Regions from separate parts of the Homo sapiens genome. Here all the other regions are linked to region 2. Evidence: promoter capture Hi-C in human tissues and cell types (Jung and others, 2019). All regions are on one chromosome and are shown on one strand. Each heading gives the region's core, a stretch centred on a gene start or on the middle of the fragment in contact. The rest is flanking DNA. Distances are from core to core; before and after follow the strand shown.

Region 1 (3,050 bases), core at 29-2,528, 200 kb before region 2:
ACGAGAGTTTCATAGTTTTGTATTTTATAATTAGGTTTGTGATCCATTTGAGTTAATTTTTGTGGAGGGTATAAGGTCTGTGTGTCTAGATTCATTTATTTAAAGGTGGATGTCCAGTTGTTCCAGCACCATTTATTGAAAAGACTGTCTTTGCTTTGTTGAGTTGCCTTTGCCCCTTTGTCAAGGGTATGTTGATTATGTGGGTCTGTTTCTGGACTCTCTATTGTGTTCCATTGGTCTACTTGTCTTTTCTTTAACCAGTACTACTGTCATGATTACTGTAGCCTTATAGTAAATCTTGGCCATCAGGTAGTGTCAGTTCTCCAAGTTTGTTCTTTTTTTTTTTTTTTTGCAGTATTGTGTTGGCTATTCTGAGTCTTTGCATCTAGAATAAGTTTATGGATCTCTACCAAACAATTTGCTGGGATTGTGATTTGGATTGAATTGAACCTATATTTGATGCTATTGAGCCTTCCTATCCATAAACATGGAATGTCTCTATTTAGGTTTTGCAAACATTAAACATTTCTCGTCAGAGTTTTGTAGTTTTCATTATATAGCTCTTGCATATAAGAGCTCTTGCAAATAAGACCAGGCTGGTTTGGAATTCCTGGCTTCAAGTGGTCCTCCTACCTCAGCCTCCCAAGTAGCTGGGATAACAGGTGCATACCACCATTCCTGGCTAATATTTTATTAGATTTATACCTAAATATTTCATTTTGGGGGGTGCTAATGTAAATGGTATTGTAGTTTTCTTTAACTTTTATTTTAGGTTCAGGGATATGTGTGCAGGTTTATTATATAAGTAAATTCATGCCGTGGCGGTTTGTTATACAGATTATTTCGTCACCCAGGTACTAAGCTTAATACCCAATAGTTATCTTTCCAAATCCTCCCCCTCCTTTCCCCCTCCACCCTCAAGTAGGTCTCAGTGCCTGTTGTTCCCTTCTTTGTGTCCATGTGTTCTCATCATTTAGCTCCCACTTGTAAGTGAGAACATGCAGAATTTGGTTTTCTGTTCCTGCATTAATTTTCAAAGGATGTTAGCCTCCAGCTCCATTCATGTTCCTGCAAAGGACATGATCTTATTCTTTTGTATGACTTTGTAGTATTCTATGATGTATATATTCCACAGTTTCTTTATCCAGTCTACCGTTCATGGGCATTTAGGTTGATTCCATGTCTTCACTATCATGAATAGTGCTGCAGTGAACATACCCGTGCATGTATCTTTATATTTGTGTTATATAAATATATGATATGAATATATTTGCTGTATAAATATATGATATGAATATATTTATGTAACAAATATATTTCTATAACAAATATATTAATATATATGTTATATAAATAAATTATATAAAATATTTATATATGATATTTATATATTTATGTTATATAAATATATTTATATTTATATATTTAGAATGATTTATATTTCTTTGGGCATATACCCAGTAATGGGATTGCTGGGTCGAATGGTAGTTCTGTTTTTAGCTCTTTGAGGAATTGCCACACTGCTTTCCACAATGGTTGGACTAATTTACACTCCCACCAACAGTATATAAGCGTTCCCTTTTCTCTGCAACTTTACAGCATCTGTTTTTTTTTACTTTTTTTTTTTTTTTAATTGAGATGGAGTCTCACTCTGTCTGCCAGGCTGGAGTGCAGTGGCATGATCTAGGCTCACTGCAACCTCCGCCGCCCAGGTTAAAGTGATCCTCATGCCTCAGCCTCCTGAGTAGCTCGGACTACAGGTGCATGCCACCATGCCTGGCTAATTTTTTTGTATTTTTAGTAGAGACAGGGTTTCATCATGTTGGCCAGGCTGGTCTCGAACTCCTGACCTCAGGGGATCCACCCGCCTTGGCCTCCCAAAGTGCTGGAATTACAGGTGTGAGCCACCACACCTGGCCGACTTTTTAGTGATAGCCATTCTGACTGGTGTGAGATGGTATCTCATTGTGGTTTTGATTTGCATTTCTCTAGTGATCACTGATGAGCTTTTTTTCATATGATTGTTGGCCACATGTATTTCTTCTTTTGAAAAGTATCTGTTCATGTCCTTTGCCCACTTTTCAATGGGGTTGTTTAAGTTCCGTATAGATGCTGGATGTTAGACCTTTGTTAGATGCATAGTTTGCAAATTTTCCTCACATTCTGTAGGTTGTCTCTTTATTGATAGTTTTGCTGTGCAGAAGCTGTCAAATCTAATTAGATCCCATTTGTCAATTTTTTCTTTCGTCATGAAATATTTCTCAGTTCCTATGTCCAGAATGGTATTGCTTAGGTTGTCTTCCAGGGTTTTTATAGTTTTTAGTTTGACGTTTAAGTCTTTTATTCATCTTGAGTTTATTTTCTGTTATAAGGAAGGGGTATTTGTTATAAGGAAGGGGCCCAGTTTCAATCTTCTGCATATGGTTAGCCAGTTATCCCAGCACCATTTATTGAATAGGGGAATCCTTTCTCCATTGCTGGGTTTTGTCAGCTTTGTTGAAGATCAGATGGTTGTAGGTGTGCAGTCTTATTTCTGGGCTCTCTATTCTATTCCACTGGTCTATGTGTCTGTTTTTGTACCAGTACCATACTGTTTGGTTACTGTAGTCCTGTAGTATACTTTAATTGGGTAACTTGATGCCTCTAGCTTTATTCATTTTGCTTAGGATTGCCTTGGCTATTTAGACTCTTTTTGGTTCCATATGAATTTTATTTTATTTTATTTTATTTTGAGACAGGGTCTCACTCTGTCACCCAGGCTGGAGTGCAGTGGTGTGATCTTGGCTCACTGTAACCTCAGCCTACCAGGCTCAAGCCATTCTCCCACCTCAGCCTCCCAAATAGCTGGGACCACAGACATGTGCCACCACACTCAGCTAATTTTTGGTATTTTTTGTGGAGATAGGGTTTCGCCATGTTTCCCAGACTTGTCTTGAACTCCTGGGCTCAAGCGATCTGCCTACCTCAGCCTCCCAAGGTTCTGGGATTATAGGTGTGAGCCACCACGCCTAGTCCCATATGAATTTAAAAACAGCTTTTTCTAGCTCTAC
Region 2 (3,512 bases), core at 222-2,721:
CCAAGATCTGGCTTCCGACTGGACGTGGCAGTCAGCTGGTGGCCTCTCCAACATCGCCCTGTGCCAGGTTTCTCACCAAGTTGGTTTAATTTTTTTTTTTTTTTTGCAAAGTCCAGTCAGATTATTGACAGTGCCTGTCTGCCTGACCCGCCCCCGCCCCCCGGCGCCGCAGATCCCTGCTAACAAGTCTCCCAGTGCCATTCAACTCCCGTGAGCCAGCTCCGCCATTCAACAGCCAGCCCACTTTTGTTCCCCCAGTTTAATTTCATAATTGTTTGCCACTTAACAAGCTCTCCTCTGGGCCATTCAATAGAGCAGGGGAAATGGGGAGGGGGAAGGCAAAGAAACTCTGGGAGGGGAGCTGGGAGCCAGGCCAGCCCAGCACTGGGGAAGAGACATCCCAGAGAGGTCAGCTGGACAGGGGTGGGGGCCAGTTCCGGAGTGGAGCCTCCTGACACCAACTGGGCCACCCAGCTTGAGCCCGGAGAGGTGGGAGGGAAAGGAGCAGGGTGAGTTCCGAAGGCCAGGCCGGGGCCTGCCAGACTCCTGGGCACATCAGTGCTCTGAATGACACGCCTCTGGCCCTGCCAGGGTGAAGGGAGACAGCATGAATTCACGCTCCCGTAACATGTCCCAGAACAAACACACAGGAGACAGAACTGCTCCTTAGTTTGGGCATTCCATGATCAACATTCCCTTTGAGGGCTGGGACCTGTCTAGGTAGCCACTGAATCCCCTGGCCGAGCACATAGCAGACAGGAATAAATATGTGTTGAGTGAGTGGATGGATGGATGGATGGATGGATGGATGGATGGGAGGGAGGGATGAATGGATGGAAGGAAATGGATGAAGTTTCCAGCAATACCTAGCAAAAGTGGCCACTCGGCCAGCGTTCGTTCCCTATCTCTTCCCCCCCAAGTGCCAGCAGGGGCTTGGCAGCGCACACAGTAGGCTCTCTACAAGCGGGGGCTGCTATTGTTACCACTATCATCATCACTGGCACTCCACCAGCCCGCTGCTTCCACCAGCTACTCCGCCAGCAGCAGCAGCGACTGGCGAGCAAGGGAAAAGTTTCGCTGACCCCGCGGCCCCAGCCGGAGTCCCGCGCCCTGGCGGAGCCCCCTCCCGCCGCCGCCCGCTAGGCAGGCGGGGCAGCTGGGGTGCCCAGCCCGCTTCCCGCACCCGGCAAAGGCGGCCAAAGTAACTTTGCGGGCGCCCCTGCGCAGCGCCGCGGGCGTCGCCCAGCGCCTGGAGAGGGTCCCGGCCGCGCCCCGCGCCCGGCCTCCCGCCCGCGCCCGCCGCGCCCCGCCCGCCTCCGGTCCTACCTGGCCCCGGGCTCCTCTTCGGCGGCCGCGGCGGCTGCGAGCAGCAGCGCGCACCGAGGGAGGCAGGGGCTCCCGGGAGGGAGGCGCGCAGGGGCGGGGGCTCCTCCGGCGGCGGCCGCCTCGCCGCGCGTCCGAGGCTGCAAGTGGGAGCCAGACTCCTCCTTCGTGGGGCGGGGGGCTCCCCGCGCCCCCTCCGCCGCCCGCCCGCGCGCCGCGAGGCTCCGAGCCTCCTTGGCTCCCCCCGCCCGCCGCCGCCCGCCTCCCCACGCCCGCCCTCCCCGCCTCTCCGCGCCCGGCCGCCGGGAGGGGCGCGCTCGCGGCCTCGGTCCCGGCCCTTGCGCCGCCACCCGCCGGGGCCCCCGCCAGGCCCGCCAGGCCTCGGCCCTCGGCCCCCGCCCGGGCTCGGAGTCCGCATCCCGCTGCGGAGGGACAGGGAGCGCGGCCGCGGGCCTGGACGCGGGAGGAGGAGCGGGGCCCGCGCTGCGGAAAAGGGAGGGGGCCGCCCCACTGCGCCCGGCGCCCCTCTTGGCGCCCGCCCCCAGCCCCGGACCGGGCCGCGCGCGGGCTGGGCAGGGAGCGGGGCGGGGGCGCTCTCACCTCCGGATCCGTGGCCTCCGCAGCGGGCACCGCGTGCAGGGGCGTGCGCGGCTCCTTCCGGGGCGCCGCAGCCTTCGCCCGAGGCCCGGACCCCCTCCTGGGGCCGCCGGGGCACCCTGCTGTGGGCCCCTCCCGCCCGGGGTCTGGAAGGTCCCCCTCCGGAGACGGAGACACTCTGACCCCAGCTCCCAGTCTGAATAGGTCGGGGTCCTCCTCCTGGGCCACCATCTCTTCCACTCGGGAGTCACAGGTCCCCAATCCCGGGCACAGCAGGTAGCCTGCAGCGGCCGGAGCCCCAACGGGATGGGTAAACAAGTCAGGAACTCAGACGGCGCGACACCCAGTGTAAAGAGGCCCTGCCTTGCTGGGAAGAGCAGAGACCATCGCCTTCAGTGTCGGGGGTCACCCTGGGGAGTTTAAGGCCCTGTGGCTTCCAGCCCCTTGCCGCGGGTGGGACGGGGATTCCAGGGCCTTGTATAGTTAGGGTGCAGATCACTCTGGCCTGGGCCTCCCAGACTGAGAGGAAGATGAAAAGGGGCTGTGGCTCCTCAGAGGCCCAAAGCCCCTCAACAAATGCTTGTAGGGTCTCCCTTCACCAACACACACATCACACAATCCCCAAGGACACCCTCTGCGGGCCCCTCAGGCCTATTCTGCCCCTGAGGACTGCTATCTGGTGTGGCTTCCTGGAGGTGGGGACAGCCCAGTTGAATGAGTGTATGCCAGGAGAGAAGGCCTGGAAAAGACATCCAGGCCGAGGGAATGCGGCATGCAAAGGCCTTGGCATGTGAGTTCATTGGGGCTAGAGACAAAGGAAAAGCAAGGGAGGGAAGATGAGGTGGCAAGGCTGGGAGTGAGGGAACAGAAGCCAGATCGGGAAGAGCCTTGGATAGACTTTATCAGGGGCAGTGGGAGCCATAGAGGGTTTTTAAGCAGGGCTGTGACTTGGTCACGTTTATCTTTTTACAGCTTGTTCTGGCACCTCTAAAGACAGAGGTAGAGGGGGAGAGGCTGGGCTATGGAGGGAGAGGATGGAGGCCTGGGGCCCTCAGGCCAGAGATGGGGGGCAAGGGCTGGCCGAGGAGTCCTGAGGCAGTCACCCCCTCCTGCTTCCTTGTCTTTAGACCCCAATTCTCTCTCAGGGAATCCCAAACTCAACCCGGGAGCCTCTTTCTCCTCCTAGGCTACAGGCTTCCTGAGCACCGTGACTTCGAGGGAGGTGAAGGAGAAAACTGTCATGCCTGCCTGGGAAGGCGGCTTGGACTCAGTGTCTCAGCAGACCCCACCTGCCGCCTGCCTGGGACAAAGCCACAGCTTGGCTGTGGCCTCTGGAGATCACAAAGGACAGTGACAAATGTGCCTTCCTGGTCCCTGGGTCGAGAGCAGAGGTTCCTGTGACACTTGTCCTCCAAGGCCAGCTTCCCCACCACCTCCAGTCCTACCAGAACTACCCTCAAGTCCCAGAGCATCATCTCTTACCTTCCCAGGGTACACATTTATTGAGCATCTACCATATTCCTGGCACTCGGCACTTGCTTTGAAGCCAAGCATGAGCTCTCCACCAGAGGGACCTGGTGCTACCTGCACCA
Region 3 (3,112 bases), core at 440-2,939, 230 kb before region 2:
TCCACCATTGATGGGCACCTAGGTTGATTCCACACCTTTGCTATTGTGAATAGCTCAGCTCTGCTTCTTAATAACTGTGTGCCTGTGTGTGGGCACACCCCTCAGCCTCAGCTTCCTTTTTCCTAAAATGGAGATAATAGTAGTAGCTACATCATTGGATTGTTAGAAGGATTAAATGAGGATATATATCATATACATATGATATATATTTATGTTTGTTAATATATATTTATTACAACATATATTTATTACAACAGCCTTAGGAAACTAATAGTTTCCTAATAGGGTTAGGGTTAGGAAACTAATAGTTTCCTAGGGCAGTTATAACAAATTACCATACCCTGGGTAGCTTAAAACAATAAAAATGTATTTTTTCACAGTTCTCGAAGCCAGGAGTTTGGAATCAAGGTGTCAGCAGAGCCATGCTCTCATCTGCTGGCTCTGGGAGCACGCTGCATTGTTTCTCCCAGCTCCCAATGGCTGCCTGCCATCCGGCATCCCTCGGCCTGTAGCTGCGTTGCTCCAACCTCTGCCTCTGGCTCCACATGGCCTCTTTGGTCTCTTTCTTCTTTGTCTGCATGTCTTCACATCATGTTCTCCTCTCTGTGTGCCTCTGTCCAAATTTCTCTCTTGTTCTAAGGACACCAGTCATTGGGTGAGGTACTACTCTCATCCAGCACGACTTCATCTTAACTTGATTCCAACTGAAAAGACCCCAGCTCCATTAAAGGTTACATTCACTGGAACCAGGATTGAGACCTCATTATACCTTTTGGGGTACACAATTCAACCGACAACAATGTATAACCCTTAAAATAGGGCCTGGCACCTGAGGGCTGGGACTTGGCTGTTTTGTTCACTATTGTATTCCCAGTTCCTGGATAGAACCTGTCAGAGATGCTCAAAACATCTGTAGAATTAATTAATAATTTATCCGCTCTTTGTCTTCTTCAATACAAATATATTTTCCAAATATATCATGTCTTTTTGTTTTGTTATAGTTCCATATTTTGCCATTACAATGTTTTCAGTTTTTATACAACCAAATATTTCTATTGTCCTTTTTTTTCCCTAAATAAATTCTAGGTTTGTAGCCATGGTTAATAGGTGTTATTCCTTCATCCCCCACCCCCACCCCCACCTCAGTCTCCTAGACTTTCTTACAAGAATTTTATTTGTTTTTGTATAGAATGTTTTTAGAGCAGCTTTAGGTTTATAGCAAGATTTAGTGGAAACTACAAAGTTCCCGTATACCCCTGTCCCCACGTGCACAGCCTCCCCCACTAACAACACCTCTCAGCAGAATGCTACATTTGTTACAGTCTATGAACATGCATTGAAATTATTACAATTTCTTGCTTATAGAACAAGTGAAATGTCTAGGTCAAAAGAATATGCACAGTTAAATGTTTAATGCATATTGCCATATTACATTTCCAACGATTCTATCAAATTCATTCCTACCACAAGTGTTTGGTAGTTACTAATTTCCAAATGTTTGCCAACTTTGGGTAGAATAAAAAAGTTTAATATATGCTAACATATCAGTCAGAATTATAGTCATTACTTTAATTTGCATTTCTTTGATTTTAGTTAGCCTGAACTTCTCTTTCCCATTGTTTTATCAGAGAATTTATTTTTATTTTTAAATGTAGATGCTTAATCCATGTGGAATTAATTTTTATACTCGATGTAAGATGGGGCTCTTCTTCTATATTTCCTTACTGAATTAGACTATTACCTTTGTCATTTATGACATTCTCATTATGCTAGGGTCTACATCCGAAAACTTTCATCCCACTGATTTATACATCTATTTCTATATAAATGCAATATGGCTCTTTAATTTAGTAAAACAGGTCTTTTCTCAGTGTTCTTCCTTTTTGTATTTTCTTGGCTATTCTCAGGCCAGGTTTATATGTTACCATATAGACTTTAAAATCATTTTATTCAATTACCCCTCAGATGCATTACTGGGATCATAACTGGACTTACATTACATTTATATGTTGGAAATGTATCTGCTCTTGAAATCAGCAAGAGAGAACATAAAGGCGTGCAGAGGCTGAGTGACAGAGAGCCCTGGGATTCTGCAGGGGAAGTGGCTGCTTAGCATCGGCTTTTCCTGTTGCGCCCATTTGTCCTGAGCTTTGAGTTTCTTCCCACTTACCCTTTGAACGACAGATTTGATCTCCAGGACTTGAGCACAGTCTCCTCTGAAGTTGAAGTAGGCACGACTTGTCTGCTTTTATCTGCCATGTTCAAAATCTGTCATTGAAGTACTAAATTCACTGCCCGCAGAACACGCTGAGATTTTACATGTGTATGTAGACCCAAGCTGGGTTCTGGATCTTTGCTTCTAAAATGGACATGTCTGGTCAATGCATTAGTTATGCCTGGAATTCCCCTTGACATTGAAAGGTGGTCATGTCACCTCATCTTTCAGTCTCAGTTTTTGTTTTTGTTTTTTTTTTTAGTTTTAAAATGTCCACTTTATTCCATATAACACTTAACCAGATATCATTTACATCTGAGGAAGAGATGGCCCATGAGACTGATCTATAGTAAAACACTCTAAGAAATGCAGTCCAATTTTATACATTTCCAGGCATCCCTAGACAAGTGTGTCACAATGCACAATGCGGAAATATACGTATCACTACTACATTTTACATAAAAGGGAAGTATCAATAAACTTTAGAAAGTAGTAAATTCACCTGTCCCTTAAAATATGGGTATGCAATTGTTACAAAGCCATAGTAAATGGTTTATAAAATGTACTTTTATTTTATGTTACTCTGCTGTTACATAGGGCATAACATTTTCACAAGGCTTTTTTGGGACTACAGTCAATGATTAGCAACACACAGTAGTGGTCCAACTCTCTAAATAACAATCACTAGACAAACTGGACACCCTCTCACATGTGCACAAATCTGCATGGAAAAGTACTAAAGTTTTAGACTTGGACTTGCGTACTTTTTTTCCTCTTTCTAGTGTATTAAGAAATGACATGCACTTTAATTTGCCAAAAGCAATGCTTGTATTCTGGCAGCAACATGCTACTTCTATCACATAGTAAAGTGAATACCAGAACTACAAAGGCAGGAGG
Region 4 (3,314 bases), core at 209-2,708, 190 kb after region 2:
GGGATTACAGGTGCCCATCACCACACCTGGCTAATTTTTGTATTTTTAGTAGAGACATGGTTTCACCATGTTGGTCAGGCTAGTCTGGAACTCCTGACCTCAAGTGATCCGCCTGCCTCGGCCTCCCAGAGTGCTAGGATTACAGGCGTGAGCCACCGCACCCTGCCCATTTCTATATATTTAATGCATATGTGATTTGATTCTAAGCACCTGTGGTGGTAGGATTCTTTAGTCCAAGGGCTATGATTTGCTCTTGCAAGGAACCGGCAGTCCTGGATCTATAGTATTTCAAAGCCCCTTCCCTTCCTTGCTGTCCTATCTCTCTTCTGTTCTACGCTCTTTCCTAAAGCACAATCATGGCTTGCTGATGGGGAGGAGGTAGGAGGATCCCTGTCCTCCTTCTCAGAAGACCTCTGGCGGGTGGCCCCTGGGCTTGAGCTTGACCCCACCATCCATGTGTTCACCTGTTTTAGGCCTTGCAGGGAGAGAAATGGGGCAGGAGAGGGTCCCCCACCCCAGGAGAGCTGTCGGGGCACAGGGACTCAGATCAAGCCCCACCCCCAGCTCCAGATGGATTTGTCCCCTGGCAGCCCCCGTCCCCCACCACCTCCTTGCCTGCAGGAGAGGCCACCACCTGGGGGAATTTTGGCTTTCCCCAGATGCCCCCACCACCCCCATCAAACAGAAGGCCCGCTTCAAGATCCGAGATGCCAAGTGCCACCTCCGGCCCCACAGCCAGGCACGAGCAAAGGAGACCGCCAGGCAGCCGCTGCTGGGTGAGTGGGACGCCCTGCTCCTAACCCACACCAACGGGGCTGTAGGAGAGTCCTCATGCCTGGGAGCTGGGGCCCCAGGGTCCAGCGAGTCTGGTTTCCAAGGGTGGAGGTCTCTCTCACCTGGCAGCTGTTTATTGAATGAGAGTTTCCAAGGACATTGCAGGCTGGGGAAACAGCGGAGGGCAAGCTTGGTACGAGGGGCCCCGGAGGAAGGCACCAGCTCTGTCCCCGTGAAGATTCCTTCTCAAACCTAACAGAGCTCTCAGCACGCAGCAGGCTCTGCCCAGAGCCGAGTCTGCACTGGCCAAACCCTCAGCAGGCCCAGAGCTGGGGGCACAGCCTCATTCATGAATATGTATGAGATGCCTCCACCTGCAGCAGCGTGATGGACCGGGCGTGAGACCTGGCTCAGCCACCAGCCCCTCCTGAGACCCCGAGCCAGCCCTGACCTTCTCTAGCCTGAGTTTTTCCGTCTGCACCACGGACCAGGAAGTCCTTGCCAATGGCACTCTGTATGCAGGGCTTGGTAGGACCTTGCTCCCTGCCCCATGCCGCCTTTGCCACAGTGGTCCTTTCCTCGTCCAGACCACTGCCATGTGACTTTCGTGACCCTCAAGTGTGACTCCTCCAAGAAGAGGCGCCGTGGCCGCAAGTCCCCATCCAAGGAGGTGTCCCACATCACAGCAGAGTTTGAGATCGAGACAAAGATGGAAGAGGCCTCAGGTAGGTGAGGGGTTCTCCTGGGGGCTTCTGCAGGCCTGAAGGAGGACGACAGGCTGGTGGCGCTGCCGGGGGCCTGCCAGGCATGAAGCTAGGCTCCCACCAGAGCACAGCTGTGGCTGGGATGGGAGCCCAGCTTCTGGAGACAGAGGCAGGCCCACAAGCAAAGGGAGCTGGCAGGGGTCAACGCTTGCAGCCCAGGATAGAAGAGGCAGCCCAGGGCAATGAGACAGAAGAGCCGAGGTGACCTCAAAAGTCACATGACCCTTATCTGCCCCTCCACACTCCTGCTGGGACCCGGGAGGACAAATAGGTGCAGCCCCCCTAGAATGGTTGAGCCAAGGATTGTCTTTCCTGGTTCCTGAAGGAGGTTCTAATGCTGGCTCGGGTGTCACAGCAGCACTTTGCTCTTGGCTATATGTGAGTGTCAACCTGTGAGTCGTTGATGTTGAAGAGATGGGATCTGTCAGCAGATAAGTGTGGTATGGGCCTGGCTGTGGGCTTGGGCGCTGTGGAAAGAAAAGTCCCCACCCAGGTAACACTCTCAGCCAGAGAGGCAGACGCACGTGCAAACCACCCATTGCCAGGTGGGACTCTCGGTGGTGGGGGCACAAGAACAAACAATGCATAGAACTGAGGTCTGCCCCCCACGGGAGGGCTTAGGAAATGTCTTAGTCTGGCTGGGCACACTGGCTCACGCCTGTAATCCCAGCAGTCTGGGAGGGCCAAAGTGGGTGGATCACTTGAGTTCAGGAGTTCAAGACCAGCCTGGCCAACATGGTGAAACCCTGTCTCTACTAAAAATACAAAAATTAGCCAGGTGTGGTGGCAGGCACCTGTAATCCCAGCTACTCAGGAGGCTGAGGCAGGAGAATCGCTTGAACCTGGGAGGCAGAGATTGCAGTGAGCTGAGATCGCGCCACTGTGCTCCAGCCTGGCGACGAGTGAGACTCTATCTCAAAAAAAAAAAAAGGAAATGTTTTAGTCTATTTGCGTTGCTAAAAGGAACACCTGAGGCTGCATAATTTATCAGGAAAAGAGCTTATTGGCTCTCGGCTCTGCAGGCTGTCCGAGAACACGGCAGCAGCATCTGCCTGGCGAGGCCTTAGGCTGCTTCTGCTCACGGAGGAAGGTGAAGAGCAGCTGGCATCACATAGCAAGAGTAAGGGAGCAAGAGAGAGGGGAGGGGGTGCCTATGTCTTCACCAGTCACATCTCGTGGCGACTAGTAGAGCCAGCAAGAACTGACTACCACACCAGGCCATTCATGAGGGACCTACCCCATGACCCAGACACCTCCCACCAGGCCCCACCCCCAGCATTAGGGATCAGATTTCAACATGAGGTTTGGAAGAGACAAATATTGAAACCATATCAGGAAGCTTTCCCAGAAGAGGTGCCATTTGAATGAGAGCTTAGAATCAAAGCTCACTGGGTGGAAAAGGTGGCAAGGAATGGCATTCAGGCAGAGGGAATAGAATAGGCAAAGGCACAGAGGTCAGAGAGAGGAGGAGGTGTCCAGGAAGCAGTAAGTAGGGCCAGGTGGCTAGACATTGGAATCCACAGGGAGTGTCAGAGTGGAGGGGATGAGGCTGGCAAGGCCATACGGGGCTGGACCTTGAAGGGCCTTGGATTCAAGGCCAGAGAGCTGGACACTATCCTGGGGACAGTGGCAGTCCCCAAGAGTCTTTGAGTGACAGAAAGGCGTTCTTGCCCCGTGAGTCGTACCCTGGGGGGTGATGTGGTGCAGTGGCAGCTGCCTGGATTGCACTCAGATCTGCTGCGTGGCCGTGGGCAGGCCCTGCCTCCCAGGTCCGCA
Region 5 (3,469 bases), core at 88-2,587, 160 kb after region 2:
ATGCTTAGGATAGGTGGAGCATTCCGCTCCTCTTGCTGCTGCTAACAGATTCCCGCAATCTCAGTTGCTTAAGACGACGCACGTTTATTATCTTCTGTAGGTCAGAAATTTGACCTGGGGCTCACTGGGCTAAATTGAAGATGTCGGCAGGGCTGTTTCCTTCTGGAGGCTCCAGGGGTGCATCCCCTTCCTTGCCTTTCCAGCTTCTAGAGCTGCCCACGTTCCTTGTCCCGCGGTCCCTTCTCCACCTGCAGAGCCAGCAGCCTGACCCGCCCCAGTCCTCACAGCTCTGTTTCTGACCCACCTCTGCTGCCTCCCTCGGTTACTCTCAAGGACCCCTGTGATCACGCTGGGCCCCTCCAGATAATCCAGGATAATTTCCCGTCTCATGGTCCTTCAGCACATCTGCAGAGGCCCTTCTGCCAGGTAGGGTCACAGTTTCTGGGGATTAGGATGTGGGCATTTTAAGGGGGCATTATTCTGCCTAAAACAGATGGTTCTGCTTGGGCTGAAGGAACCCTCCGTTAGGGCAGAGCCCACACCTGCCCTTTTCACTGGCTGAGCCCCAGGACCATGAGCCTCCTCTGAAACCAGTCCTGAAGATGTGGGATGCACCCCACCCACTTCACGGAGCCTCCGCTGGCTGCCCCAGCTGTGGGCACCCACTCTTCCTCAGGCAGCCTTGGGGGTGTATCTTCAGCCCATTCCCTCTGCCCCGGCTCTCTCGCCTCACCAGTACTGCTCAACCCCTCTAGAGTTTGCAAGGGACTTTCCAGGCAGCTTTCCAGTGAGTCTCCCCCACAGCCCTGGGAGGCAGCTATCCCCACTTCACAGATGAAGACCCTGAGGCCCTGAGAAGGGAGGCCACATAGCCAGTGAGCAAAGCCTGGGCCAAAGTCCCAGCCCTGTGGACTCCCAAGTCCGGGGCCCCAGGTTAGGAGCAGAACAGGCCTGAGGGACGCGGTTCTGCAGGCCCAGTAGCATTTCTGGCTGTGATGTTCCTCCTGTGGGCACGACATCAGCAGAACTCACAGCCAGCCCATTCCAGGGGTCCCACCACCCCCATGAGAGCAGTGGGGCCTGAGCTGCAGGCTAGGGACCCCAATCTGAGTCGGCCCTCAGCCTGAGCTCCCTCTGGGCCTTGCACTCTGCCCCGTGTTTACCTCAACCTCACAGCCACCCTGAGAGCAGTGCGAGTGTTTTAGAGATGACGACATGGGGGCACAGAAAGGCAGCTGGGAACTCCTCTCCCCGCACCCCTGAGGCTGCTCCTGCCTGGCTGCCTGAACTGCTCCACCTTGTCCGATATAGGCCCAACCTTCTCTGCCTCCTCTCTGGATCTGGCCAGGAGTGAGTGCTTGGCGATGCTTATGGAGGTCAGAGCAAAGAGGAACACTGCCCAAGAAGCAGTGCCTGGCCTGAGGGGACCTTGGGTTCCAGCAGGGACAGGGCCCCCTGAGCCTTCCCTGTCCCTCCGTACTATTAGAGCCATCTTCATAAGTTTTCCCCAGGCCAGTGCCAGACAAAGCCTGGGAGCAGTCGCAGCATCTGTGACTCCCTTGATCAGCAGACACTGCCTGGGCATCTCCCGGGAGACAGGGCCCTAGACCTGCAGGAGCCCCCAGGCGTCCAGAGGAGAGGGAAAAGCTTCGGTCATGGAGCAAGGCCTGGGTACCAGTTCTGTCCACTCCCTGGAAGCTTTGCTTGCTCAGGCGAATTTTTTAACTTCCCTCAGCCTGTTTCCTCAGCTGTAAAATGGTGATCGTGATAGCGTGTACTTCCTATCGATTTGAGGATGAAATGAGTGACTAAGTAGCAGGTGCTTAGCGCGGTGCCAGGCACGTAGGAAGCACTCACTGTGCATCAGCTGTGTGACGCAGTTGGGGCACTGAGGTGCAAAGCACCAGAAAGGGAAGCCGCCAGGGACAGATCTGCAGGTGAGCAGGCAGGGCCAGGTGGAGTCCCAGGCTTCCCCTGGCTTTTCCCCGCCCTTCTGCCCCTAGACCTGTCTCCCCAGCCATCCCGCCATCTATGTCCTGGCCACCCCCAGCCAAGCCCTCTGGGCCGCGTGGCTGCACTCAGGGCCCACTGTCCTGCTGGCAGGGGGAGAAGAGAGGAGCTTTCCCACTGCAGCTCACGGGGCTACAGCCTCACCCCTCTGAGCCCCGGGTTTCCCGTCCCCCAAATGGCCATGACCTGCTTCACCCTGCCAGGCTCAAAGGAGCTGGAAGGGAAAGAAAGGATGGAAGGGCCCAGCACACAGGCCAGAGCTTGGTAAGGGGCTGCTCATCCTGAGAAAAGCAGGCAGGGAGGCTGGAGAACTGGGAGGCCAGGGAAGACCGAGGAGAGTGGAGGCCACTGTGGAAATGGTGGCTGACACTTAGGGGGCACACACTGTGTCCCACACTGTCCCCAGCATCATTTAAGTGCACAGCCACCCTGAGCGGCATGGCCAATGTCACTTCTCATCGGGACATGTGCATTCCTGCTTCTCCCCGCTAGCTCCCCTCCACCCCAGCTCCCGTCCACCCCAGCTCCCCTCCACCCCGCCCGTACCTCCTCTTCTGCAGCGACCATCTCCAGGGTCCCGGGTGTCCCTGATTTCACCAATCTATGTCCCAGTCCCCACCCCGCACATTCACCCACTCCTGGAAGCCACCCTCTGCCTGTTCCTCTGGCCCTGCATGCTCAGCCTTTCCTGGACTCCCTGCCTCCAGGGGTCACATCCTCTTCTCTCTACCCAGGTGCCATCTTGGGTGGTTCTACCTGACAAAGGCTGCCTTTTGCTTGTCCTTCCTCCCCTGTCCCACCACTCACCCTTCCTCCACCAGCACCCCCTGACTGGGGGCAGAAGCTAGGTCTTTTCCAGCTTGGTGCCCCCCCTCAGGGCACAGCACAGGGCCTTGCCCAGAGCGGGAGCATGGGTGAGGCTAGTTGGCTCAGCACATGAATGAAGGCTTCCTGGAGGAGGTGCCCGGGGATGGATGGGGCCTCAGTGCCCAGGCAGGCAGGTATCCAGCTCAGAGAGAGGGCAGGCCCTGCAGCCTGGACGTGCTTGGAAGTGGGAAGGGACTCAGGCAGGTCTGAGTGCTGGTGAGGGAGGTGATATCACAGGGCCGCTCCCCAGGCCCAGTGCTCATCAGGTGGCCTGGCTGAAGGAAAGCGGGGGCAAGCCCCTCTCAAGTCGTGGCCTCCCTGCCCACTGAGCTCCAGGGACTGGGCTCCTGTTAGAGAAGGATCAGGTGGTCAGGCTACACCTCAGTCACTGGACTGGCTCCAAATATGGCTGGTGTCTGGTCAGCTGGGGCCCCCAGCCAGGTTGAGTCCTGGGCCCTGCCCTCAGTTGAGTCCCTCACTGTCTCACACTCACAGCTGGGGCTTGTAGGGGGAAGTAGGTGATGGCGACTCCGCTGTGCGGAGGGCTGGAGTGTGGGTGGAGTCGCAGTGCCAGGCAGGGCTTAGTAGAGAA
Region 6 (3,092 bases), core at 5-2,504, 260 kb before region 2:
TAACTATTTGTCAACTGAGTATTTTAATATTTCATTTTATAAATAAGAAAGATGGCACACTAGAAAGACAGTAATTAGAGTCAGGGAATTTTAGAGCAAGCAGAGATCTTAGGAATTATTGAATTTACCTTTTAAATTTAGAAATGAAAACACTGATGTCTGAGAGGTTTGGGGACTTGGCTCACAAACTTAGTGGCTGGCCTGGGTCAAGAATCTGGGACTCCTGACTCCCAGGGACAATCTGTAACTTCTCTATTACATACCTGCATTCACATTTACTCTCTTCCAGAAACTTAGATTCCTTGCCACTATTTAATATTTATTGCAACACACATCCATTAAATCAGTTAACATTTTTTAATATGAATGATAGAATGATTAAACTGATTTCCAAATTGAATTGTAACAATAAAACATACTTAGTAAATCTATAAAAAATTAGCCTGATGAATATTCTAGCTCTTCTTCATTTTAAAAATACAGGTTTAGTTTAATGAAAAGATATTATTCTAACTTGCTCATTCATTGCTTATAATAAATTCATAATGAAAGGTAAAATGTAGAACTATTCAGCAGACTTCACTTTGTCATAGCCCTTTTAAAAAGTTCTTAAGTAAAGAGCAATGGGAATATTTTAATGATATGCTAATTAAATTTGAATACCTGGGCTTTTCAGTAGTAGCAGCTTTATAAATGGGCATAAAGATGGTATTTTAAGAGACGGGTTAAATATTCCATGATAAGATATGTTTGCTTCCTAAAACTGGTGAAAGAAGCAATGGCAATTAAACATTTCATAAAATGTAGCTTTCCCAGAGAGCTCTTAAAAATCAGGAGACGCAGCGGGGAAGGAATAGAAGTCCATTCTCCATGACTGTCTCAGGGCTGTTTTTTCCCCAAAAATATGGGGCGCAAGAGACTTCCAGAGAGCTGAGGAAATAGCTGTCCTCCGAACACCCACGCCCACATGCTCAGACACATCCACGCTGAGACTCACAGAACAGCACATTCAATTTGTATTTTATAAATCAAGCCGATTTGTGGAGTAACTGTGGACTTCCCTTCATTTCCGTGGATGTTTGATGACTTCCTTGATCTAGTTACCACAAAACAGCCTATTTCTTTCATTTAAAGCTTTCTAATGGGCTCTGACTTTTAATTTTTCCACTTCACAAAAAATATCCTTTTTCAACCCTGTGTGCCCGGTCACATGCCACCTTCGGCCAGCTCAAAGCATAACTGAAAATCTCGAGGACCATAATATTCTCTCCCTGCAAGTTCCCCTGTCCCCAGCCTGCCACTGTACATGGGCTTTCACTTGGACACTGTGCTGGGGACCTCCAGTTCTGGCCCTGGAACCTACCAGCCAGGGGAGGGTAAGAAGCCCCTGAGTCACTCCACCCTTCCCAGCTAGTGAACCGAGGATGGGAAACCTTCTTACTGTCATGGGTTACATGGAAATGGGTGCAGTCTGGAGGAAGCACCCTGCGTGTGTCAGTTGACACTGGGTCTAAATGCCTGCTTGTGATTTTAGAACCAAGCTCACGGAGGATAAAACCACCCTGACCAAGAAGATGACCACAGAAGAAGTGATTGAAAAATTCAAAAAGTGTATACAGCAGCAGGACCCGGCATTCAAAAAACGATTTCTTGACTTCAGCAAGGAGCCTAATGGAAAAATTAACGTGCATGACTTTAAGAAGGTAGGAGAATGGGTTTCTCTTTGTTTCTATCCTGCAGAAGTTCAGCTGTTTTCTTATACTAACATACTTTAAAGGACAATGGCTTATCCCAGGACGCAGCAGATCCATTTCTAGGCATCTTTCAACAATTTAAAAGGATTTTTTTTTTTGGCCAAAAAATTGTCATTGGCACATTTCTTAGAGAATACTTTCAATATGGATGTGGCCAGCTTTTGATATTTAAGCTTTTACATATCAGAAGCATTTATTGATGCGGTTTGGCTATCTGCTGCATACCTGGCACTGTGCATCATTGGGCAGCCTGCGGGTGAGAGTACAAAGCCACTCGGCCCCTGCCTGCCAGTGGAGAGTTTCCAATCACAGAGCTATGGTTTGTTCCTCTAGAATGAAAAAAAAAAAAAAAAAAAAAAAACAATCTGGCAGTGAAATATGGGAAACTCAGAGTGCTGATTTGCATGTGCTTATGGGAACTGGTGAGTTTCTGCCAGAAAGGGCTCAGCTTGAAGGGTTCTGCATAGACTTCTCAGGAATTAATTTAAATGATTGCTTAAAATTCGTATTACGATCCCTCTAGCTAATCATCCTCAGCTATTTTTAAGGAAAGCATTTCAGTTAATATGTAGCAGTGTCCATGTGGACAAATTTAGAAGAAGGCAATAAAATATATTTCCAAGAAGAGTATAATTACATTAGTGGCCCCTTCATCCGGTGCCTGCCCCACTGCCGGACATTGGAATGGGCTTTTTATGGGTCTTATTTCTAAGCCTCCAGAATGCAGCATCATGGAGGAGCATGGACTGGAGGACGGAGCAGGGCTAGAGGCACAGAAATGGGATTAGGTAGCTACTGAAATAGTCCAGACCCTCTCCCCTCCCCAGCCAGAACAAGACAAGACGTGGAGGGTCCTTTGTTGTATGAGCATATGGGGAGAGCCAGGAGAATAGATTCAAGAAGGACTCAGAAATAAGGAGTTGAGGATAGGAAATGAGGGATAGGACATAAGACATAAGGGAATAGGCTAGGTGTGGTAGCTCACGCCTGTAATCCCAGAACTTTGGGAGGCCAAGGCAGGTGGATCACGTGAGGTCAGGAGTTCAAGACCAGCCTAGCCAACGTGGCGAAACCCCATCTCTACTAAAAATACGAAAATTAGCCAGGTGTGGTCACGCACGCCTGTAATCCCAGCTATTCAGGAGGCTGAGGCAGGAGAATTGCTGGAACCCAGGAGGTGGAACTTGCAGTGAGCTGAGATCGTGCCACTGCACTCCAGCCTGGGTGACAGAGCAAGACTCAGTCTCAAAAAGAAAGAAAGAAGGGAATAAGGCAGAGGAAATGTTTTAAGTCATTCCCAGATTTCTGATTTGGGGACCAGGTGGCCGATAACCAGTC
Region 7 (3,206 bases), core at 260-2,759, 220 kb before region 2:
TGAGGCACCTCCCCAGACTGATCACCCCTGGAGATTCATTTTGGTTACCAGGCTCCCGTTTCCACATGCCCGTGTATTTATGACATCAGTCCAGCTTAGACTTTCTAGCAGGGCTCAGATTTTGAACATTCTGTCCAGTTTTCAGAATGTGCATCCTAATTTTTGGTTTGAAAAAATATGATCGCCATATGCATACATGGAGACGGATTGGTCCTAATGATCTCATCCAGGCTAAGTGGCCAGCCAAGAGGAGCACTCTGGGAACCACTGGCCTGTGGGCTCCAGCGTGGAGGAGGCAGGGGTCATTTAAGTGGGGAGTGCCTGGTCCTCCAAAGGAGAGCCGAGCTGGGTGGGAGGCAGCGGCCGCTGCAGGGAGAGAGAGCAGAACGGAGGCAAAGGCTCCAGGAGCAGACTCCCTTCTGTGCTGGTCGGCAGGGCCTCCACGGGCACCCTAACTGTAGAGGCCTGGCAGCTGCCTCACTGCACCTTGCCCATTGCAATGCAGGCCCCTCCCTGTTCCCTCTCTCAGACTCTCTCCTCTCTTCCTCACACACTCCTCGCGTCTCCCAGTGGAGGCCGTGGGAAGCCCAGCTCCACGCTACATCGTTGCTTTCCTATCTTTACGATCAGTGAAGCTTGGCTACAGCCAACGTATATCCTGTGTTTTCCAAAGAGATCTCTATTTTAAATAATGAATTCATTCAACAGACCATCACCGACACCCACTCTATCCCGCCAGAGAATTTATCAACTAGTGGGTGAAACAGAGGAGTGAACCCCTAATTGCCAGTTTTTATGTGAGACAGACTGGATGCGGGTTATGTCCGGGGCTCGTGAGGACTTGGCTTGTGTCCTTGCAGGTATACGCAAAGTGGACAAAGCACGGGTCTCAATTTTTTAATGGGATGGTACAGTCACTTTTTTTGAATTTTTTTGGTAGAGACGAAGTCTTGCTACGTTGCCCAGGCTGGTCTCAGACTCCTGGGCTCAAGCGATCCTCCGACCTCAGCCTCCCAAAGTGCTGGGATTACAGGCATGAGCCACTGTCCCTGGCCTCATATATCTTTTAGAAACAAATAGGATTAACCTGTCAACCCACAAATAGGGTCACAGTACACTCAGTTCTCTGCAACTTCACTTTGCACTTCACAATTCGTCTTGGACTCCTGGCCCTCGCAGGATTGTCTCATCCATGTGCATCTCTGACCGGAGTGCCCACTGTGCTCTCAGGATACATCCTGCTCCCGCCTGGCCGGCCCACAAGACCCCTCACCCCCTCACCCTTTCCTGCCTCTAAGCGTTTGCACATTCTGTTCCTTTGCTTGGATGGCGCCTCCCCTTTGACCAGTGGACTCCTCCCCAAGCTTCTGTCCTTCTCAAGCCCTTCACATCAGCTGAGAGGTTGCCACTGCACATTCCCCTCTCTCCTCACGTCCCTCATAGCACACAGCCCGCAGGGTGCTGCAGTTAGATTCAACAGTGAGCCCCGAGCCATTTCTACATCATTCACCACAGTAACCCAAGGGGCTGCCACAGTGCCTGCCACAATGCACATGACCGATTTGTATTTGCTGATTGAACACACCACACCTGATGCTGGGCAGCGAACTGGAGGGCCACACACAGGGCCTTGTGTGTTCTGACACCCGCAACCACCCTGTCAAGTAGGTTTAATGTTCCCGTGTTATGCTGGATACCCTGAGGGTCAGAGACGGGGAAAAAGTGACACAAAGCCACACCTCTAGTACATGGCACCGTCAGGAACTGAAATAACACCGGCTCGATTCCAAAGCCTCTGTACTACGCACTAACATTGGGGAAGCTGAAGACTGAGATTTGAGGAATGATTAGTTTATAAACTTGTGAAGATTAGCCATGTATGATCTCATAGCATCTAGCTTGTCCCTGGAGTCCAGAATCCAGGCTGGCCCCACCTGGCCCTCACACCTCTGTCCCTGCAGTAATCACGCTGGATTGCCATGATTTGCTTCCTGTCTTGCTTCCCTAGTAGATAGACAGTGAGGACCTGGGTGTCAGGGCCCACGTTGCAGTTATGGTGTCTGTGTACCCAGCAGAGTGCTTTGTGCCTAGGAAATGCTGCTCCTTCATGTCCAGCAGCCCCATCTCACAGACGTTATGGTGAGCATGGCTCGGAGAGCTGGAGCTGCAACAGGGAACAGATCAGAGCCCAGACTCATGCTTATGTTCTAGGGGGAAGTGCAGTGGACACAGAAACCTCTACTAGATCAGGTGGTGACATGTGCCAAAGAGAAAAGTAGAGGATCGTGGGAGGCCAGTCAGGGCTGGTGCCATTGTACAGAGGAGTCAGGAAGTGCCTCTCTGGAGAGGGGACACTCAGACACAGTCATGAAGGAGCCAGAGTGAGCCCTGCGGACACTGGAGAGGGCTCCCTGCGATACCCTGAAGCAGGCTCGGCCTGTTCAGAGAACAGTGAGGGGACGGGTGGGATGGGGGTGTAGACAGGCTTGTGGGCCACGGCCAGGCCTTGGCCTTGGACTCTGAGTGAGAAGGAGAGTCAAGGGGGTTGAGCAGAGGCGCCTCATGCATGACGTCAGCTGTAAGGGATCGCTCGGGAGCGATTGCACAGAGCAGAGGCCACGGAGCCGACGATGGCAGCTGGGAGCCATCACGAGGTTCCTGCAGGACTCCAGCGACCTTGGGTGGGGGCCGAGGTGGTGTGCCTGGGAGAGGGGGTCCAGTGCTAATGCACTCTGAAGGGAGAGCCAGCGGGATGTGTGGGCAGACTGGATGTGGGTGTGAGAGGAAGCGAGGGCTCAGAAGGGCTCCCAGGTTTGTGTCTGAGCAACCAGGAGGAAAGAGCTCCACTTACTGAGATGGGAAGACTTAGGAGGAGTAGGGTGGGGACAGGGGGTGGAGGTCAGGAGTTTGATTTGGGCCATGTTCAGTTTGACATCCCAGAGAAAATGCCCCCAGACCACTGGAGATGTGAGGCTGTGGGTCAGGGGGGTGGCGGCTTGGGGCTGAGAGTATAGAGGGAATCATCAAGAAACAGATGGGCCTGCACCCCAGGAGGCCCCCTCGGGCAGAGTTAGACATCAGCCTCCCTGCCACACTGTATTGTCTTCCGGAGGCAGGGGCGGCATCTTTTAAATTCATTTCCACAGTATTTAGCATGGCGATTGCACATATTAGGTACTGAATAATTTTTGGTGAATGAATACATG

What was found. The method cuts DNA at HindIII sites, captures the fragments that hold promoters and counts their contacts. A contact is called where the count stands out against the background at its distance.
Region 1: a fragment that was not itself captured here is called in contact with the fragment with the promoter of MPPED1 in region 2 in 5 of the 25 tissues and cell types used here (liver, neural progenitor cells, pancreas and 2 more).
Region 3: a contact is called between a fragment that was not itself captured here and the fragment with the promoter of MPPED1 in region 2, in 2 of the 25 tissues and cell types used here (dorsolateral prefrontal cortex and lymphoblastoid cells).
Region 4: a contact is called between a fragment that was not itself captured here and the fragment with the promoter of MPPED1 in region 2, in 4 of the 25 tissues and cell types used here (H1 embryonic stem cells, dorsolateral prefrontal cortex, liver and 1 more).
Region 5: a fragment that was not itself captured here is called in contact with the fragment with the promoter of MPPED1 in region 2 in 5 of the 25 tissues and cell types used here (H1 embryonic stem cells, IMR-90 fibroblasts, bladder and 2 more).
Region 6: a fragment that was not itself captured here is called in contact with the fragment with the promoter of MPPED1 in region 2 in 4 of the 25 tissues and cell types used here (IMR-90 fibroblasts, dorsolateral prefrontal cortex, lymphoblastoid cells and 1 more).
Region 7: a fragment that was not itself captured here is called in contact with the fragment with the promoter of MPPED1 in region 2 in 3 of the 25 tissues and cell types used here (H1 embryonic stem cells, dorsolateral prefrontal cortex and lymphoblastoid cells).

The regions. Positions count from the first base shown.
Region 1 is chr22:43,611,479-43,614,528 of GRCh38, reverse strand. The region is part of intron 21 of EFCAB6 (EF-hand calcium binding domain 6); the gene reads left to right. Among named protein-coding and RNA genes, the nearest start is that of EFCAB6-AS1, 97 kb to the right of the region's middle. The HindIII fragment of the contact is 4,342 bases long and covers 1-3,050 here.
Region 2 is chr22:43,409,973-43,413,484 of GRCh38, reverse strand. MPPED1 (metallophosphoesterase domain containing 1) reads right to left here and starts at 1,471. Exons shown (of 7, transcript NM_001044370.2): 1 at 1,327-1,471. The HindIII fragment of the contact is 18,974 bases long and covers 1-3,512 here.
Region 3 is chr22:43,645,216-43,648,327 of GRCh38, reverse strand. The region is part of intron 17 of EFCAB6 (EF-hand calcium binding domain 6); the gene reads left to right. It also overlaps the pseudogene YWHAQP2. Among named protein-coding and RNA genes, the nearest start is that of EFCAB6-AS1, 130 kb to the right of the region's middle. The HindIII fragment of the contact is 5,358 bases long and covers 1-3,112 here.
Region 4 is chr22:43,218,635-43,221,948 of GRCh38, reverse strand. It overlaps SCUBE1 (signal peptide, CUB domain and EGF like domain containing 1), which reads left to right. Exons shown (of 22, transcript NM_173050.5): 13 at 660-776; 14 at 1,362-1,499. Among named protein-coding and RNA genes, the nearest start is that of SCUBE1-AS2, 7.6 kb to the right of the region's middle. RefSeq lists an enhancer at 1,201-1,702. The HindIII fragment of the contact is 3,980 bases long and covers 1-3,314 here.
Region 5 is chr22:43,248,384-43,251,852 of GRCh38, reverse strand. All of the region lies in intron 6 of SCUBE1 (signal peptide, CUB domain and EGF like domain containing 1), which reads left to right. Among named protein-coding and RNA genes, the nearest start is that of SCUBE1-AS1, 26 kb to the left of the region's middle. RefSeq lists a silencer at 110-298. The HindIII fragment of the contact is 6,663 bases long and covers 1-3,469 here.
Region 6 is chr22:43,665,715-43,668,806 of GRCh38, reverse strand. EFCAB6 (EF-hand calcium binding domain 6) reads left to right here. Exons shown (of 32, transcript NM_022785.4): 17 at 1,535-1,703. Among named protein-coding and RNA genes, the nearest start is that of EFCAB6, 150 kb to the left of the region's middle. The HindIII fragment of the contact is 4,657 bases long and covers 1-3,092 here.
Region 7 is chr22:43,627,866-43,631,071 of GRCh38, reverse strand. The region is part of intron 19 of EFCAB6 (EF-hand calcium binding domain 6); the gene reads left to right. Among named protein-coding and RNA genes, the nearest start is that of EFCAB6-AS1, 110 kb to the right of the region's middle. The HindIII fragment of the contact is 3,448 bases long and covers 1-3,206 here.